Regions from separate parts of the Homo sapiens genome. Here region 2 is linked to region 1. Evidence: promoter capture Hi-C in 16 types of primary human blood cells and fetal thymus (Javierre and others, 2016). All regions are on one chromosome and are shown on one strand. The core of a region is centred on a gene start or on the middle of the fragment in contact, and the rest is flanking DNA. Distances in the headings are between cores, read along the strand shown. Region 1 holds the start of C1QB (complement C1q B chain). Region 2 holds the start of LOC124903874 (a long non-coding RNA gene).

The links. The method cuts DNA at HindIII sites, captures the fragments that hold promoters and counts their contacts. A CHiCAGO score of 5 or more calls a contact.
Region 2: a contact is called between a fragment that was not itself captured here and the fragment with the promoter of C1QB in region 1, in 2 of 17 cell types (M0 macrophages and M2 macrophages). The highest score is 6.2, in M0 macrophages.

The regions. Positions count from the first base shown.
Region 1 is chr1:22,651,764-22,655,203 of GRCh38, forward strand. It overlaps C1QB (complement C1q B chain), which reads left to right and starts at 1,473. Exons shown (of 3, transcript NM_001378156.1): 1 at 1,473-1,540. The HindIII fragment of the contact is 5,474 bases long and covers 1-1,928 here.
Region 2 is chr1:22,887,791-22,891,155 of GRCh38, forward strand. All of the region lies in intron 6 of EPHB2 (EPH receptor B2), which reads left to right. It overlaps LOC124903874 (a long non-coding RNA gene), which reads right to left and starts at 1,770. Exons shown (of 3, transcript XR_007065534.1): 1 at 1,717-1,770. RefSeq lists a silencer at 1,722-1,927. The HindIII fragment of the contact is 2,047 bases long and covers 633-2,679 here.

The DNA.
Region 1 (3,440 bases), core at 223-2,722:
CCAGAGCCACTCGGCTTTGGGAATGCTCAGAAGCCCTCAACTTGCAACCTACTAACTCGTTTCTCCCTTTGTGGAATCCAGTGTTTCTTCTCTTCACCCTAGCCTGGGTCCCTTCGGGACTATAGTTGACTGAGCTCAGAGACCTTTTGGTTTTATCAAACTTATCTTTCCCTCCTGTTCACCCATTGCAGTTAACACTTAATTTCCACCAAGCTGCATCCACAAGCCCAGTGAATTTCCATCTCCAAGCACAGATGTCAAGAGGGCCTCCAGCTCCTGGTGCTTGCTAGTCATCATGTCGTCTGAGACGCAGCCACAGGGAGAGACTGATATCCTAGTGCCAGGGATGCCGGCTTCCAGGTCTGCATCTGCCACCTCCATGAGGCATCGGCCCCAGCAGTCACGTCTTTCTGTGACATTTATCACAGAAGCAATGAAGCCTCATGTCATTCCGTGTTTAACACCAGTCTCCCCCCGTAGAAGGGAGGCCCCATGGGGGCAGGGACCATGGCTGATTTGCTAAGAGCTCTCTCTTCAGTGCACATGGAAGCAAACACTAAATATTTGTTAAATGGTGGGTCTCCCCTCTGGGCCTCAGTTTCCTCGTATATAAAATGAGGAGGATGGGCCGAGTAACCTCAGCCCCTCTCCGGCCCTAACTTGGCGTGATTCCAGGATCGAGAAGAAGCAACAGGCCCCTGCCTGGGCCTATTATTGTCATCAGCGTCCAGCCCTGCTGGAAGCAGAGGGAGGGGTATCAATAAATAATGAACACATTTAAAATTCATTATGAGATTATTTTCTGAGAACAGGGAAAGAGCAGGGGCACAGAATGGGAAGGAAGCAGAAGAGATGAGCCCAGAAAGGGGAAGCCTGGGACATGAAGTGATATTAACAATGAACACGTGCACAGCCCTTTACAGTTTACCCCCAGACACTTCCTCCCCCATCATTTCCTCCATTATCCTCCCAGTGGCCTGTGAGATCTGTATCTGTAGAGCAGGTACAATTATGGTCCCATCCTATAGCAGAGAAAATTGGGGCTCCCTTGACTGACAACACATCAACTGGCAAGTGGCAGAGGCGGGATTGGAATCAAAGGCTCTGACTGTAAGCCAGCACTCAGGCAGCGGGCCCGCCACATGATGCTCACTGAGGAACACCCCTGCCCAGTGTAGAAGAAGATCACGAGGTCAGAGAGCCTGGGAGGGTGAGCTGTGGATGTTCCCCCAGGACAGCGTGTTCTCCCCACAGCTGCTGAGTTGGCAGAACCAAACTTGCCACCCACCCGTCTCATTTACAGTAAATCCAGTGGGTTGCAGAAATAGGACCTGAAACTGCCTGAGGGCAGCAGGGTGGGGGGACAGTGAGGGGACGGGAAAGGGGCCAGCCTGCTGGTCCATGGGAGGGGACCGTCAGGGGAAAGCCCTTCCCGCCTCTGGGGAAGGGAACTTCCGCTTCGGACCGAGGGCAGTAGGCTCTCGGCTCCTGGTCCCACTGCTGCTCAGCCCAGTGGCCTCACAGGACACCAGCTTCCCAGGTGAGGACGGGGCTTGGCGCCTGGGGGAGGCTGGCAGGGCCAATATGGCAGAAAGTGGTGATTCCGTAAGTGTGAGCTTTGCGTCACCTGCCTCGGAGCCAGTTAGGCTGTTTAACAGTGCAGGTAGCTGGGCCCAATCCCAGACCTATGGGACCCAGATCTCTGGGGTGAGTTGGGGAGTCTGCTGCTACCCAGGGCCTAGCGGATGGGCAGGCCACCTAAAGCGGGAGCCTGGCACATAGGAGCTTTGGCATCGCAGAGACTTGAGCTGAGTCTGGCTCTGCACCTTATGTATTGGTTATCTTGGGCAAGTCACCTAACCTCTCTCAGCCCGGCCCCCCTACAGAGAACAGAATCTTTCAGCACTGCTGTGCCTTACAGGAGATCAAGCTTGCAAAAGCTTAGTGCATGCCCTGGCTCAAAATTTATCAGTAAACCAGAGGCAGGAGTGGGATTATAAGCCAGTCGCTCCTGCCCGGCCCAGCATTTCCCCAACACCTTGCTTATTTCCTCATACTCGCTGAGAAAGCTCAGCTTGACTCTTCCAAAGAAATAAGGGGATGTGCAGGTAGAGTTACGATGAGTTCTCAGCTAGTACTGAGTGAGCGCAATGTTTGTGCAGCTGGGGAGTGGGATGTGGCACTGCACGGGGCAGGGGGGACCTTATTTCTTCTAAGCGCCTTCTCCTGTCATCCTTCTGGCAGCCCTGTCAGGTTGAAATCAGCATTGCCAAGAGGCTCAGAGAGGTTAAGGCACTTGCCTGAGGTTATGCAGCCGGTAGCAGATGGGGCTTTAAAGTCAAGTGGGCCTGACTCCATGTTGCGGAAAGGGACTGCTGGACCGAAGGAGATGGAAAGGTCAGAGCCTGGGGGGAGGACAGGAGAAACCGCGCTGGCAATGATGATGGGCTGGCACAGGCAGGAGGCAGTTAAACCAGATGAGTTGTAAGCCCTAACCCAAGGCTGAAACTCGGTGGCTTTTGAAATGGGCTAGAACCAGCACTTTCCCACTCCCCCTGCCCCTGGCTTCCCCAGGAAGCCCAAGTCCTGTCAGTACCCTGCTCCCCACCCTCTCTCCCCACCAACTGGTCACAGCTCTCCACCCCTTGCTGCCTCCAACTGACAGAGCCCCTCCCTCTAAACACAGTCTTTCAAAGGGATTGTCTTTTTTTACTTCTCCAACCATCTTCCCTTCTGTTCAACCACTCAGGAATTCTTGGATGACAGTGATAATAATAAAATAGCTAATATTCATTAAGAATTTCCAACATGCCAGGCTCTGTTGGAAGCTGTAACTCATGTCCTCGCACATACCCTATGAGGGAGAGAGTAGCATTATCCCCACTTTATAGGAGGGTAAACTGTGGCCAGAGAGAAGGAGTGATTTCCCAAGTCCCTTAGCTAAGAAGCAGTAGAGACCTTATGTGAACGCTGAGTGTTGCTTTCCTTGTGACACTACAGGCTCCCGCCACCAGGTGAATGTGTGCTGCCTAACAAGAGCAGCAATCATCGTGGTGGTAAAAAGCCACTTTCACCGAACACTGACCATGTGCCTACCACTACCCTTGGTGTGTCCCATGCATTAGTCCTTTTATCAGGCTGTCTGGCTTCAAAGTTTATGTTTTTACCACCAGGTACAGTGGCCTCTTAACATAACATTGAGTTTTAAGATCCAGTGGATGTGGGTTTGACTCCCAGCCACACAGGAGCTGTGTGACTTTTATCAAGGTGCTTGCCCTCTCTGATCCCGTTGCCTCATCTGTAAAATAAGAAAGCAAGAGTGCATTCTCAGGGGCTGAATATCAAATTACAGGGGATAATGGCATGCAAGCCATCTGGCTCAGAGCCTGGCCTATACGTACCCAACTTATTAAAGTTGTTAAATTGCCATTTTGTAAAAC
Region 2 (3,365 bases), core at 406-2,905, 240 kb after region 1:
ACATCAATTTTAGAATTTATTTAACAGAAAATGAAGAGGAAGGACATTCCAGGCAGAAGGAGCAAAGGTTGGAGGATGGGGGGTGAAACTATGAAAGTTCAGGCCATATTCAGCTTGTTGCCCAGTACCTGGAGTAGGATCTACCTGGAGAGGTTTGTCCACTCATTCATTCACTTTTGCATTCATCCATCCATTTAATGAACATGGGAAAGGGCTTACTCTATAATGGTTTTTTTGTTTGTTTGTTTTTTGGGGGTTTTTTTTGTGTGTGTGACAACAGAGTTTTGCTCTTGTTGCCCAGGCTGGAGTGTCATGACGCAAGCTCACTGCAACCTCCGTCTCCCGGGTTCAAGTGATTCTCCAGCCTCAGTCTCCCAAGTAGCTGGGATTACAGGCATGTGCCACCACGCTCGGCTAATTTTTTGTATTTTTAGTAGAGATGGGGTTTCACCATGTTGGTCAGGCTGTTCTCGAACTCCTGACCTCAGGTGATCCAGCCCTCGGCCTCACAAAGTGCTGGGATTACAGGCATGAGCCACTGCGCCTGGCCTCTATAATGGTTTTGATGATAACAGTGATGGTGGGAGCCAACATTTATTAAGTCTTTTTATGTGCTAGAGACTGTGCTAAAAAGCTTTACCTGTATTTTCCTTTTAAATCTCCAAAACCACCTTTTATGGTACCTACTTGCATTAACCCACTTTAGAGATGAGAAAACTGAGGCCTGGAAGGCTTAAGACATGCACCCAATGCCTCACTGGCCCTAAGCTACCAGGTAAGTGCTCAGACTAAGGACTAGTGGATTTCATACTGAATCTCTTCCCATCGTCCCTTGGTGCTTAATCACTGTTCAGATAAAGGTACCCCAGGGAGAGGAGAGACCGAAGGGAATTGGCGTCTCTCGGGCATCTCCAATGTGCCAGGCACTACCTGATCAAATTTTATCTTCACAACAGCCCTGAGAGCTTGGCATTTATTGTTCCATTTATTTGGAATAGAAAACAGGGGCTCAGGGAAGTGAAGGGTCTTTCCCAAGGTCACAGTGCAATCAAGTGAAAAAACAAGGATATGAAGCAGCTTCCAGCTGGGTACAGTGACTCATGTCTGTAATCCCAGCACTTTGGGAAGCTGAGACGGGTGGATCATTTGAGTCCAGGAGCTCCAGACCAGCCTGGGTAACATGATGAAACCCTGTCTCTACCAAAAATACAAAAATTAGCCGGGTGTGATGGTATGTGCCTGTAGTCCTAGCTACTAGGGAGGCTGAGGTGGGAGGATCGCTTGTGTCTGGGAGGTCGAGGCTGCAATGGGCCATAATCGCGCCACTGCACTCCAGCCTGGGTCACAGAGCAACACCCTGTCTCAAAAATATAGTCAGACAGAGAGAGACAAAAATGAAAAATGAAACAGCTTCCAATCCCTTGCCCAGCTTTAATGAAGGGAGCTGCTCAGGTTGGTTCCTCACTCTCATGAGGCACCTATGGAACCAGCAGCCGCCTCTCATCTCCCTCACATAATCAGGGGCTTAAAACCTCCAACATCTCTAAGTGGGCACCCACCCAGTTTACAGAATCTAACCTGTTTTCAAGTCTGAGCAGAGCCCATGTTGTACAGTGGCACTTAGTGTCCATGTCTGGTACTGCATCCCAGGTTTTGTAGATTTTTGAATACCAGTTTAATGTTCATTCATTATGTCAATAATTAGTGAACACTTACTGTGTGGCAAACCTGGGGGGATCCAGAGATGAGCAAGACATGGTCCCTGGCCTCAGGAAATCCACATCCTTAAAGAAGATGGACAGGTATATTAGGACAATAGGTGGGAGGGGAGACAATTTGGACCCACAACCCCTGGCTGGGACATCTGGGAAGTCTCCCCAGCAGAGGTGGCACTTGCGCTGAGTCTTGAACGATGAGTAGGACACTGCAAGACAAGTGAGGAAAGGGTATTTCAGACAGGGGCAACAGTGCTTGCAAAAACTCAAGAGTGTCCATGGAAGGTAGAGTTGCTAGATAAAATAGAAGACACATGATTACATTTGAATTTTTTAAAAATAAATGTTTTAGTACAAATATGTCCCAAATATTGCACGGGGCGTACTTATACCAAAATGTATTTGTTGTTCATCTGAAATTTAAATTTGACTGAGCAGCATCCTATATTTGTGTTTGCTAAATCTGGCAGCTCTACCAAGGAAGGGGGAAAGAGTTAGGGATGGCAGGAACCTAGGAAACATTAGGGATGTTGCAGGAGAGACTGCAAAATGGTGGGTCATGAAGGGTCTGGAATGCCAGGCTAAGGAGTCGGCCTTCACCCTGTGGGCACTGGAGAAGGACTTTGTGTGAGGGACCCCAAACTTGGTACAGGGGAACAAACACAAGCCCTCCCTCATGGGCTTAGAGTTAAGGGGGCGAGAGGAGCCTCAGCTGGAAGTTGAGGGGGCATAGCAGAAACCCCCTCCTGTGGCACCCACAGCAAGTGCTCTGGGACTGAGAAGGAAGAGGTGCATCTGGCTGGGATGTCAAGGAGGCTTCCTGGAGGAGGAGGCAGATGATCTGGCTTGGCAAAAGAGACTTCCTCTCTGCTGCTGCCCCACCCAGCTATCCCTGCCTCCCCCTGTTATGGGGGTGGTAGAGACACATCTTCAAGTCAGCCCCCTTCATATCCCCTACATCCCAAGCTTTTTCTCCTCTCCTTTCCTCTGAACCTGCTGCCCCTTCTGCCAGGCATGCACATCTTTGTCTGGGTGGTTCCTGTTTGTTCTTTGAGATCCCATTCCAGTGACCCCCACTCACGAGGGAGCTTTCCTGACTTCACCTGGTAGCCCCTGATATGGTTTGGCTGTGTCCCCGCCCAAATCTCATCTTGAATTGAAGTTCCCATAATCCCCACCTGTTGTGAGAGGGACCTAGTAGGAGGTAATTGAATCACGGGGGTGGTTACCCCCATGCTTTTCTCATGATAGTGAGTGAGTTTGCACAAGATCTGATGGTTTTATAAGGGGCTTTTCCCCCTTTGCTCGGCACTTCTCTCTCCTGCCACCATGTGAAGAAGTATGTGTTTGCTTCTTCTTCTGCCATGGTTGTAAGTTTCCTGAGGCCTCCCCAGGCATGAGGAACTGTGGGTCAATTTCACTTCTTTCCTTTATAAATTACCTAGTCTTGGGTATGTGTGTATAGCAGCATGAGAAGGGACTAATGCAGCCCCCGTCCCAGACCAGGTCACATGTCCCTCGGTATGTGCTTACCCTATCAGTGTGAGCCTGTTATACCTATTGATTCATTTTATTATCTGAACAAACTCTGAGGTAGCTACTGTTACTATCCCCCTTTTACAGATGAAGACACAGAGAAGTTAAGGAACT